3 separate regions of the Homo sapiens genome follow, and regions 1 and 3 are each linked to region 2. The links are contacts of gene promoters, found by promoter capture Hi-C in blood cells and fetal thymus (Javierre and others, 2016). All regions are on one chromosome and are shown on one strand. The core of a region is centred on a gene start or on the middle of the fragment in contact, and the rest is flanking DNA. Distances in the headings are between cores, read along the strand shown.

Region 1 (3,914 bases), core at 526-3,025, 1.2 Mb before region 2:
TAAGTATTACACCTCTTCAATGTTCAAAGCCTAAAATACAAATTCTCTTTGTCAACTTGTTTCATATCACTGTGTGAGTTTCTGTCCTTATCAAAATTAAGAGGAAAAAAACAGCCCCTACCTCTATTAAATCAACTGAACTTTCTCCAATTTTATGTAGAACAGCACCATATAAACTTTTATGTAACCCCAATCTCCCTGAGTGTTTTAGTGTTACATTAAATAAGTAGTAAGGGTAAACAATGAAATAAAGGCAAAAATAGAAAAATAAGAAAAAAAAATTTAAGAAGATTGGAATTCATTTTGTAATGTAAACAACATGAAAAAACTGGAAAGAAATATCTCCAAAATTTTTATTTTGGGTGAGGATGATGGACAAATTATTTTATTCTTTATTTTTTTCCCCATATTACTAGAATTTCTATACTGGGTAAATATTATTATTCTAATTATTTAAAGTTATCAAAAAAAAAAACCACTGTGAGAAAAACGTGTAAATGTAGAGTTAACTGGTCAAAAGAAGGTTAAAAGGCAACAACAATAACAAAAAATCTTTAAAAACAATCAGGCAAAGGTAGCCAATCATGCAGGAGAGCCTTACCAAATGTTGAGACCTAGGCCCTCGGAGGAGTAAGCCAGCCTCCAGCTTAGCTGTTTCGGGGACAGATAATGAAACAGGGACTAGAACATGCAGCCCCAAATCCCTTACATCCCCTTGCCACGGGGTGGCCCATTCTGCTTTAGCAAACAGTCATCCTTAGACAAGGAAGTCATAAAGGTAGCTCTGAATAAAGGCCTGGAAATCCTACGTGACATGCTCTACTGTTTGGAGGTTGTGCTCTGAAGCAGAAGGCTGAGGTGCCCACACTGAGAAGCGAAATGGCCACTCAGGGAAAACACACTTGGACTCTCTCTAGCTCCTGGCATGTATTAGGTGTTCAATACATATTTATATAAAAATGGCACTTAAATGAATAATCATGATGAAATGTGTAGGTGGTCAAAGAGGTACCACGAACCTGGGCAGTAACAAGAGGAGAGACCCATGGGAAGGCTTCCTGGTAGAGGTGATACTTGAGCTGGGTTTAAAGGATAAGTAGGAATTTGCCAGGTAGATAAAGTGAAGAGCAGGCAGGATTCCAGGCAGACACAAAGTCAAGACGGAGAAGCTGAGCTGGAGCAAATGGCTTAGCTTTGTGGAAAATAAAGTTGAATGGAACCTTGAGGAAAGGGTAGAATTTGGATAGAAGTAGAAGGGGAGGAAAAAGCAGAATAAGCAAAGACATTGCAGGAAGAAATGGAATGTGAGACTTTTATTCGTTCAGTAAATATTTATTGAAATATCTACTCTGTCCCAGGCCCAGGGCTAAAAGCTTGAGGTGTAAGAAAGCTTATGAGTAACTCAAACCACAGATAACAACCCCATGAGACTGGTACTCTTCTCCCCACTGTGGAGATGACAAAAGTGAGGCTTTATAGTGAGGAAGTAAACCACCCAATGACACAGAGCTAATAAATAGCATAAATCTAGCTTTTAAGTCTGTGTTATTATAGCCAGGCTTTGGAGCACACTGACTGAGTTGTTTGTTTTTTAAAATCACAGTCTCAGAGGATGTGGGAGAATCCATGCAGTCCCTATTCTGTTACTCAAATAAAAAATCATGAACACTGCTTGCTTTCCTTTTATGAATTTTTTTCTGACCTGGAGGATAAATATGTGGGAGTCATGAGTTCTTACTTATAAATGTCCCAAGTATTTTGGAACAGTTACTAAAGGGACAAGATCAGACTCTGGAAACAGCCTGATTACACCAACTGGCAACTGAAGTCCATCCACTTCAGAACGTGCTCAGATAGATAGCAAGGGGAGCAGATCCAGTGGCCATCTGAGAAAGGTCAGTCGGGTCCCACCGAAAAACATTTTGCAAAAACAAAGCCAGACTGAGATTCATGTGGAAAATGTTAAACACGCTCTATGCTGGAAAACTCTGAGACTCCTACACTGCTGACTGCCTGCAGTAGACTATTCGGTAAATGACACATCTTCCAAAAAGCTGAGCTTAATTATTCCGAGGTTGTCTAAAATCAGCACTTGAATTGGCCAGGTTCTCTATCATGTGCCAAGTGAAGTTCATCTCTTCTGAAAATAAGGAAGCTTTCGGCCCTCACGTATATTTCTAAACACAAACATATACATACATACCGTTTTGACAAAGAACAAAAATCCTGCTTAACTTTTTCTTCTGAGATTAACCATGAGCCATTAGGTAAAGAAGGGAAAAGAGTGTTTTTTAGTGTCACTGAAAAGTCAGTTAAATCTATAGTAGTTCTTCCTTTGCCATACACTTTAAACCTTTACTTTTTTTCCTCCCCCAAAACAAGAGGCATTTCTTTGGACTTATAAAAAGCTACAATTATGCCAGTTGGTGGACCAAAAAAAAAAAAAAAAAATCTTCAAGACTGTAATCAGAAATAACATTAATATAAATTTTCTCCATCATTAAATAAGAAAATTAGTTTTTCCTTTTAAATTTATTTTTTAAATCCTTTAATTAGAACATAGTTCTAATGCATGAATTTATACAATCCTTCCACATCTATTTTTGCATTCCAATTGGAAAGATAGCTCTGGTATAATCATTTGTGATTATCACGATGCCTCACATAAAAAGCTGTTATTGTATTTGAAATGTCTAAGGTAGACAGGGATTCTTATCTCCCAAAAAGCAACCCATCCTCTACCTCCATGAAACTGCTTTCTGTGGAGAAATAAATAATAAGTGCAATCTTTCCTAAAATACTTTTTAACATGTATATTCATGAAATAAAGGGGGATAACTTTATTGCAAAACTTGTCTCTAACTGAAAATTCGAGTTGAGGTGCAGTTTCACCTCAGGACTGTTTAATCAGGGGGCTGATTAAGGAATATTTTAATCAGCCTAAGTGAACCCAAATGAGTTTTGTTTTAACAGGCCTGAAATGATTTTTCTTCTTTTTTTTTTTTTCAATACACAATGTTAGGGTTTCCCAATTAACATTTCCTTGGAGATGAACCCAATTAATTGTTCAGCCCCCAACAGCAATAAATGCAGTCTTCTAAACGCAATGAATCAGGTGACCTCTCACACCTGGGTACATCCCAACTTAGTAGCATTAACAAGAAAAATGGACTTAAGAAAAACATTAAAAATATGACTCAAACATTTACTTTTAGGGCAGAAAAAGAGGGATGGAAACTTATACTACTTTCCAAAAAGTAAAGTAATGGCCTCTTATAGAAATTAAAACTGCAAACAGGCTAGTATTCCCAGGCCATTTTACAGAAACATTTAAGACCATCCCAAACTAAAAGAAATGCTTGCCTTGCTGAAATGGGAAATGGTTCTGTCTTCACCAGCCTATGAAAACCAACGTCCCAAGTCTGCATATCTCACAGTATCTCTTCCAAGTTCCAGATTTGTTTATCTGAGATAGCCAGCTTCTCCAAACAAACTGAAAACTAGAGGCAAAGATACCTAAATCAAACATTTAAATATATCCTTCAAGATATAACACAGTGCTGTGGCAGGCAACTCGATGAACAGCATGAATTAAATGTTGGAAAAAAGTATCATTGCAAGGTTAGGCATCTTTACCCTTGTCTCACGGATAAATCCCTTTAAAGTTCTGTTGGCCTGTGGGTTCATGTGCTCACTTTTCAGTACACAAAGTAAGTTCTTCAGATCCCAAGTTTTCTAAAACCGAATACAAGCCGCCTCCGCCAAATACTTTTGAAAAATGTTTAATAATCTTTGTTTTCTTTATTAAGGGCCCAGCTTTACTGGAGTATGGTGCTCCCTCAGCCAAGGGCATATCGTTTCCAACTCCCGAATGGGTAACTAAGCAGGCTGATTTCTCATCTTCTGGAAAAGAC
Region 2 (4,192 bases), core at 818-3,317:
CAGTTATTTAACTGAGCAGCTAATATATGCCAAACTCTGTAATAGGTGCCAGGGATACAGCAATAAAAAAGCTAGCCACAACCCCTGGCCTTGAAGACTTACATTATAGTGGCAGGAGATTAGCAATAAGTGTGTAAACAAGGATCATTCTATCTGGTGTTAACTGCTATAAAAAATGGTATAGGAAGTGACTAAGGGAAAAATTTCTTGTGTTCAGTGCCAGCATTTTTTTTAATAACTGTAAAATACACATAAAATTTGCCATCTTAACCATTTTTAAGTGTGCAGCTCAGTAAAGTATGTTCACGTTGTTGTGCAACCAATCTCCAGAACATCATCTTGCAAATCAAACTATCCGAATAAATAACACTCCACTTTTCCCCGCGCCCCCCCCCCACTCCCGCCCCGCCCCACCCCTGGTAACCATCATTCTATTTTGTTTCTGCAAATTGATTATTTTAGATATTTCCTGTAAGTGGAATCATAAGTATGTTTTTGTGACTGGCTTATTTCACCGACCTCATAGGGTTGTTGTGATGTTAAATAATGTAGGTTTGTTCCCGGACCAAACTGGGGGTTGGGCAGCCCAATAATGAGGTGCAGATGAACTGGGGAAGAAGAGTTTTTATTTCTGCAACCGGTTACAGGGAGAAGGTCTGGAAATTATTGCCAGACCAACTCATAATTACAAAGTTTTTCCAGAGCGTATATACCTTCTAAGCTATATGTCTACGTGTAAGAGTGCATTCATCTAAAGACGTAAGTGATTAACAACTTCTAATCCTGAAGACCTTCCTCTGGAGCCTCAGTAAATTTACTTAATCTAAATAGGTCTGGGTGCTGGGATGATTACCCTTATTTTGTCTCTTGCTAAATCATGGAGGCTTGTGGAATTCCTCCAGACTCCCAATAAACTTGTTTTTGGAGGCCTGGGGAGTTTCTTCAGACCCCCAATAAAACTTGTTTAATCCTAAACGGGTCCTGTTAAAAATTCCTTAGTTATCTTGTCATGCTTCAAGGCCCAAGAAAGGCCTAGGCAAAACTCTTGGTGGGCTTTTGTTACATTCCAGACTTTGGTATATGGGCACTGACTCTTTCAGCTTTTAATTTTTTTTTTGTTTTTTGAGACGGAGTCTCGCTCTGTTGCCCAGGCTGGAGTGCAGTGGCGCGATCTCGGCTCACTGCAAGCTCCGCCTCCCGGGTTCACGCCATTCTCCTGCCTCAGCCTCCGGAGTAGCTGGGACTACAGGCGCCCGTCACCACGCCCGGCTAATTTTTTGTATTTTTAGTAGAGACGTGGTTTCGCCGTGTTAGCCAGGATGGTCTCGATTTCCTGACCTCGTGATCCGCCCGCCTTGGCAAAAAGTGCTGGGATTACAGGCGTGAGCCACCGCGCCCGGCCTCAGCTTTTAATATTTAATTTAACCACTCAGTGCTGAAGCAGTTGTGATGGAGGCCTGCGATAGTGAAACCTGGCCTGCCACAGGTTAAACGCATCTATCGCCAAGCCAATAGGACTTACCGCTCCTCTCACCCACCCTTCTACTTTTCTGGATTTTTAAGAAATGGAAAGATTGTCAGAGTAGGCCATAAAGGCTTTAAGCCGGCTGGTGGCTGAAAACTCCCTTGGCCCCCAGCCTCCCTGGTAAGGCTTGCTGCAGCCTAATTAAAACCTTTTGCCCCTAAAATTCTGCCCCGGTCTACTGGCAAAATTTCCACTACCTAGGCTTCACTTTGTGGCTTAAAGTTTGAGCCTTGTTAAAAGCGAAACAACATCAAAAGGTGTGGCCCTATTACCAATCCTTTGGGCTCGGTTTGGGAACAGGTTTGGTCGAGGCGGTTGCGCAAGTTGGTGAGCACGTTCCTTCTACGGAACCTCCATGGGCGGCACCTGGCAAAACCACCGGACTCAGCAGGCTGGCCAGGGTGCGAGGCGGGCACGGAATCCTCGCTCTGGCCCCGACCCGGCCGGGGAGCCCCGTCCCTCCCCGGACCGCCTTGGCCAATCAGCTCCGCTCCTCCTTGGCCATCCGGCTCCGCCCCTTCCCGGCCAGCCCCGCCCCGTCGTTTCTCTCCCTGCTTTCCTCTGCCGCATGGTCCTGGGCCGTTGGCGTCGGAAGCCTGAAGCATGGGCGCTGAGTGGGAGCTGGGGGCCGAGGCTGGCGGTTCGCTGCTGCTGTGCGCCGCGCTGCTGGCGGCGGGCTGCGCCCTGGGCCTGCGCCTGGGCCGCGGGCAGGGGGCGGCGGACCGCGGGGCGCTCATCTGGCTCTGCTACGACGCGCTGGTGCACTTCGCGCTGGTAAGTGCCATCGCCTAGACCCTGCACTCCCCATCCCAGAGAGTGGGAGCGGGGGCGGCAAGGCGGGGTGAGGGGGTCCTGCGGCTTTTTGCAGCGAGCTGGCCGCCCCTCCCCCTGCTGCAGGAAGTCTGTTAGCTGAGAGGCGCCTGGAGGCCGCGGCGGCCGGAGTTCTGATTCCCAGGTCTGTGAACAGAGCGCAGCTTACCTTGTGCTGCCGATTCCTCCACCAAACTTTAAAAAAATTCTGTACGTGCTATGTTAGTTTAGAAGATACCTCAGCTTCCTCGGCTTTGTAACCTGCACGTAACTGTTGAACTGGACATAATTGAGAGTAGAATTGAGGTCATTTTTAAATGCCCCAGAGGGGGCAAGGAGAGATGCTTGCTCCGGAGGCAGCAAGGCTATTGTCGCAAAACCCGAAGCCTTTGCCAAGACAAACGAAACACCCGTGTCTAATGTGTGCCAGGCGCATTACTGAGTTTAAAATTTCAGATCTTTACAGCATCCATAAATTAGTTATTATTGTTCCCCATTTTACAGAGGTGAAGGTAGGCGCTGCAAAATTAGGTGACTTTCCAGTGCCACACAGCTGGCATGATTCTGAGGCAGTCTAGTCTGGCTCCCAAGTTTGCACTCTGTGTATCAGTCGAGGTCTTAGGAAATATGTGTCCTTAGAGATTCAACCCATTTTATAAAATAGCCAGGAAGGTTGTGTTTAAGGCATTTATATTGAAATGCCCCGCCCCCCACCACACACGCGCACGCACACACACACACACACTTTTAAGTTTTTTTTAAACTATGCCCAAGTATCAGTTTGTTTTTTTTTTTTTTTGTAAAGTTGACCTTGTTTAACTCTAGACACACCTGTGGCTAATGTGAAGCCAAAGTCAGTAGTATTGAGAAAGCAAGCCGAGTTTTGGGTAATCATCGAGTTCTGTAAATGTTTACGGGTTGGCTTTGTGCCCATGACTGATGTTGCTGGAATTCTTTTTATTCTGATAATCAACATGTAGAGATAAGGGACAGTGAATGTTTCTCTCAACTCCTTTATTTATAGAATTCTTTTTTTTTTTTTTTGTCTTTTTTTTTGTTGTTGTTCTTGAGACAGAGTCTAACACTGTTGCCCAGGCTGGAGTGTAGTGGCACTATCTCGGCTCACTGCAACCTCCGCCCCTTGGGTTAAAGCTATTCTCCTGCCTCAGCCTCCCGAGTAGCTGGGATTACGGGCGCCCGTCACCACGCCCAGCTAATTTTTGTGTTTTTAGTAGAGATGAGGTTTCACTATGTTGGCCAGACTGGTCTCAAACCCCTAACATCAGATGATCTGCCCACCTTGGCCTCCCAAAGTGCTGGGATGACAGGCGTGAGCCACCGCCACCGCCACCAGCCGAGAATTGATTTTTAAGCTATCACTTGAACACAAGGTTTCCCACAGAACAAGGGAGATAAAGCAGATTGCTAGGCCCGGTTAGAAAAAATGTATAACAAAATGTATAACATAACAAAAATGTTGCTAGGCCCAGTGAGAGAAAACTGTGTAACATATTGGCTGGGTATAACTGTATATAGCATATCAGAATGTATATATATAAAAATGTATAACATATCGGACACAGTGGCTCATGCCTGTAATCCCAGCATTTTGGGAGGCTGAGGCGGGTGGATCACGAGGTCAGGAGTTCAAGACCAGCCTGGCCAACATGGTGAAACCCCGTCTGTACTAAATATACAAAAATTAGCCAGGTGTGGTGACGGTGCCCATAATCTCAGCTACCCGGGTGGCTGAGGCAGGAGAATTGCTTGAACCTGGAAGGTGGAGGTTGTAGTGAGCCATGATCAAGCCACTGCACTCCAGCCTGGGCAACAGAGCAAGACTCTATCTTGGGAAAA
Region 3 (4,159 bases), core at 768-3,267, 1.2 Mb before region 2:
AAGCATTGTCAGGAGTGTCAGAATTCCAAGGTGCAATGTCTGCTGTTTTGGAGCCAGGACTACCTGGGCAAACAGCCTACTGTAAGCCAAAGCCAATGAGACCGGACTCAATTTCCCTGGAGCCCATGTCCCAACCGATGTACAAACCAGGGGAATTTTAAGAGCATACAGCAATCACTAAATAAATATATGACGCTGAATGGCTTTTAGAAGTTATGTTCATTGCCTGAGGAAAAAAAAACTCCAAAAGAAGCTCACTGCTCAAGGTTCTCCTGAAAATCCTACCCTGATCTGGCATCTCACTTCTTTCTTGCCTCTACCTCCAAATTTTCTCAAAGAATGTCTACCATCTGCTGCTGTTTTCCTTCCTGTCTCCCACTCCCTGAGCCCCACTAGGAGGCTTCTCCTCTACCTCTGGGAATTATTCTCTAAGAAGGGGCAGAGAGCACAGACTGAGCCATGCTACCAGGGCTCATGCATACCCCAGCACATGCTGTCTCCTTGGGAAGCCGCCTCGTGCTCAAAGCCTGTTCCCCCATGTGTAAAGAGAGGTTTTTTTCTCACTGGGCTATTCTGAGCATGAAATGTGATAATCCATACAAATCCTAGAGCACAACACCTGCCACTTAGCAAATACATAATATTAGCTAAGATATTGTGATGAAAAATATGATTTGTTAATAAAACATAAGAAACTAATGTTTATTCAGGTCTGTGCTAGGCACATTTTATACATTTTCTTATTGAATGATCAGAATGAATCTCAGAATCAATTAATAAACCATGATTTGTCCCCATCTTCGAAGACTGGCTCTGAGTGACATGAAGTAAACTCTCCTAAGTCACTGAGGAAGTAGGCAAGAGCACCCAACTCCCAACCATGCTGACATCAAAGCTGTGGATCTGATGTTCACTTTACCAAGATCACTAGGTCTGCACTTTCCTCAGTACCTCCTAACAACCTCTCCTCCATGGCATATATAAAATTGCTTTCTATTTTTTTATGTCTCTAATGACTTATCTGATTCTTTTCCCAGCTCTGCTTCACCCTCCTCCAAAGTCAACTGTATCCTTTCATCTGGTGTGATCTCCTCCTAGATCAACAAGACTAAACAAACTAACCGGGAGGCCCAAAGCCCTGAACTAAGCCTCCATGTGTCTAAAACCCAGTGGTTCATCTTCCTCCTACACCACTCTCCTGAATATCGAGGCCTAAACCTCAGAGCCAGTGCTCACACTGGCCTTGCCTCCCACATTCCATCTCTCCATCCCATGGGAGGTAGGAAGTATAGAGAGAAAAGGAGCCAATATTATTTTGGGGGAAAGGGGCAAGTAAAAATAAATACTGTGTTAGAAATCAGGAGGCTTAGCTTCTAGTGCTGGATCAGTAAATATTGTTTTAAAAATGAATTTTATTTAGGTGTTCACGCAATGTTCATGTTCACACAATGGACACACCCATTTTAAATGTACAAATCGAGGAGTTTGGAAAAATGTATGCAGTCATGTAAGCATCATCCCCCAAAGTTCCCTGGAACCCTTATGTAGTCAATTCTCCCATGGCTACCCAGATCACAGGTCACCACTCATCCATCATTATAGGGCAATTCTTGCTTTATTCTGGAACACCATAGAAATGAAATGATATAGTATATACTTTTTGTGTCCAATTTCTTTTGCTCAACATTATTTCTGTGAGATTCATCCATTTTGTTGCAGCTAGCAGTAGTTCCTTACTTTGTACCAGGGAGTAGTAGAATTCCTGAGTTGTAAGAAATTGTCAAGTGGCTATATCATTTTAAGCCGTGGACAGCCAGGTAGGTAAGTTCCAACTGTCCCACAACTCACAATCTCCTTTTTTCTTAATGGCATTTTTCAAAAACAAAAGAGAATACTTTTGATAAAATACAATTTATAATTTTTTTACAGTTAGTGGGTTTTGTGTCCTAAGAAATCTTTGCCTCCCAAGACAACAAGGATTTTATCCTATGCTTTCTTCTAGAAGCTCAATAATTTTCATTTTTGAATTTAACATAGTGATCCATTTTGAATTAATTTTTCTGTATGAGGTAAGAATCAACGTTATTTTTCATATGTATACCAAATTCTTCCATCAACATTTGTTGTAAAGACTATCCTTTTTCCCACTGAATTATCTTCACACTTTTGGAAAAAAAAAATCAATTGACCATATAAGTGTGGGTTTATTTCTAGATTCTCTATTCTATTCCATTTATCTATATATTTATCCTTATACCAACACCAAATTTATTTTATTTTTATTTATTTTTTAAATTTAGGGACAGGGTCTCACTCTGTTACCCAAATTGGAGTGCAATTGTGTGATCACAGTTCACTGTAACCCCGACCTCCTGGGCTCAAGTGATCTTTCCTCCTCAGCCTCCCAAATAGTTGGAACTATAGGCACATACCACCACAGCTGGCTAATTTTTTTTTCTTTTGAAACAGAGTCTCGCTCTGTCACCCAGGCTGGAGGGCAGTGGCGCGATCTTGGCTCACTGCAAGCTCTGCCTCCTGGGTTCATGCCATTCTCCTGCTTCAGCCTCCCGAGTAGCTGGGACTACAGGTGCCCACCACCACACCTGGCTAATGTTCTTTGTATTTTTTAGTAGAGACAGGGTTTCACCGTGTTAGCCAGGATGGTTTCGATCTCCTGACGTCATGATCCACCTGCGCTGGCCTCCCAAAGTGCTGGGATTACAGGCGTGAGCCACCGTGCCTGGCCCACAGCTGCCTAATTTTTAAACTTTCTGTAGAAATGGGGTTTTGCTACTTTGCTCAGGCTGTTCTCGAACTCTCAGCCTCAAGCAATCCTCCTGCTTCGGCCTCCCAAACCGCTAGGATTACAGGCATGAGTCATTGTGCCTGATCTCCACATTTTCTTGATTATAGTAAGTCTTTAATTCAGTTTGTGTAAGTTCTCCAAATTCTTCTTTTTCAAAATTGTTTTGAATATTATAGGTCCTTTACATCAGGGCTCCCCAGTCCCTAAGCCATGTACTGGTACCAATCCATGGCCTGTGAGGAACTGGGCCACACAGCAGGAATGAGTGTCAGGCAAGTGAGCATTACTGGCTGAGCTCTGCCTCCTGTCAGAACAGTGATGGCATTAGATTCTCATAGGAGTGCGAACCCTATTGTCAACTGCACATGCGAGGGATCTAGGTTGTGTGCTCCTTATGAGAATCGAATGCCTGATGATCTGAGGTGGAACAGTTTCACCCCAAAGCCATCCCCCTCCCTGCCCCATCCATGGAAAAATTGTCTTCCTCAAAACCAGTTCCTGCTGCCAAAATTAGGTTGGAGACTGCTGCTTCTGCTGCTTTACATAGTCATATAAATTCTAGAATCAGTTTATCAATACCTACCAAAAAAAAAGAAAAAAAAATGGAGCTGGCTAAGTATTACACTGAATCTATAATGTAATTATATAGTGTAATTATAGTGTAATTTGGGGAAAATAGATACCTTAAAAATATTGAGTCTTCCAATCCACAAACATGGCCTATTTCTCCATTTATTTAATTTTTCTTTAATTTCTCTCAGCAATATTTTGTAATGTTCAGCATATTGGTCTTGAACATATTGTGTTACATTTAGCACTAGAATGTTATTTTTAATGGTAGTATAAATGGTATGTTTTTATTCCATTATCCAATTGTTCAATGTCAGTATATAGAAACACAACTAATATTTGTATATTGAACTTGTATCCTGAAACTTTGCTTATCAATTCTAGTAACTTCTTTTGTAGATTCTTTTGGATTTTTTCATACATGACAATATTGTCTATGAATAAAGACAGTTGTACTACTGACTTTCCAATCTGTATGTCTTTTTCTTGTCTTATTGCACATGCTAGGACATCCACCACATGGTGAATAGAAGTGGTAAGAGCAGGCATCCTTCTCTTGTATCCAGTCTTGGGGGAAGATTGTGTTCAGTCTTTTACAATGAAGATGATGTTAGCTGTTTAAGTTTGCCATAGATGCCCTTGGAAGTTCCCTTTTATTCTTCATTTGCTGATAATATATATCATGACTGAATTTTATCAAATACCTTTTCTGTGTCTTTTGAGATAATCATACAATTTTGTAATGCATAAATATGGTAAATTATGGTAAATGCTCAACCAATT

Evidence for each region. Contacts are between HindIII fragments. The CHiCAGO score rates a contact against its expected background, and 5 or more counts as called.
Region 1: a fragment that was not itself captured here is called in contact with the fragment with the promoter of EBPL in region 2 in 6 of 17 cell types (naive CD8 T cells, naive B cells, naive CD4 T cells and 3 more); the score reaches 8.0 in naive CD8 T cells.
Region 3: a fragment that was not itself captured here is called in contact with the fragment with the promoter of EBPL in region 2 in 1 of 17 cell types (total B cells); the score reaches 6.6 in total B cells.

What each region holds. Positions count from the first base shown.
Region 1 is chr13:50,912,581-50,916,494 of GRCh38, reverse strand. The region is part of intron 1 of RNASEH2B (ribonuclease H2 subunit B); the gene reads right to left. Among named protein-coding and RNA genes, the nearest start is that of RNASEH2B-AS1, 3.8 kb to the right of the region's middle. RefSeq lists an enhancer at 1,503-1,592. The HindIII fragment of the contact is 765 bases long and covers 1,393-2,157 here.
Region 2 is chr13:49,689,361-49,693,552 of GRCh38, reverse strand. EBPL (EBP like) reads left to right here and starts at 2,067. Exons shown (of 4, transcript NM_032565.5): 1 at 2,067-2,299. The coding sequence starts at 2,129. RefSeq lists silencers at 1,942-2,141, 2,172-2,311 and an enhancer at 1,775-2,772. The HindIII fragment of the contact is 12,052 bases long and covers 1-4,192 here.
Region 3 is chr13:50,937,660-50,941,818 of GRCh38, reverse strand. All of the region lies in intron 5 of RNASEH2B (ribonuclease H2 subunit B), which reads right to left. Among named protein-coding and RNA genes, the nearest start is that of RNASEH2B-AS1, 29 kb to the right of the region's middle. The HindIII fragment of the contact is 6,799 bases long and covers 1-4,159 here.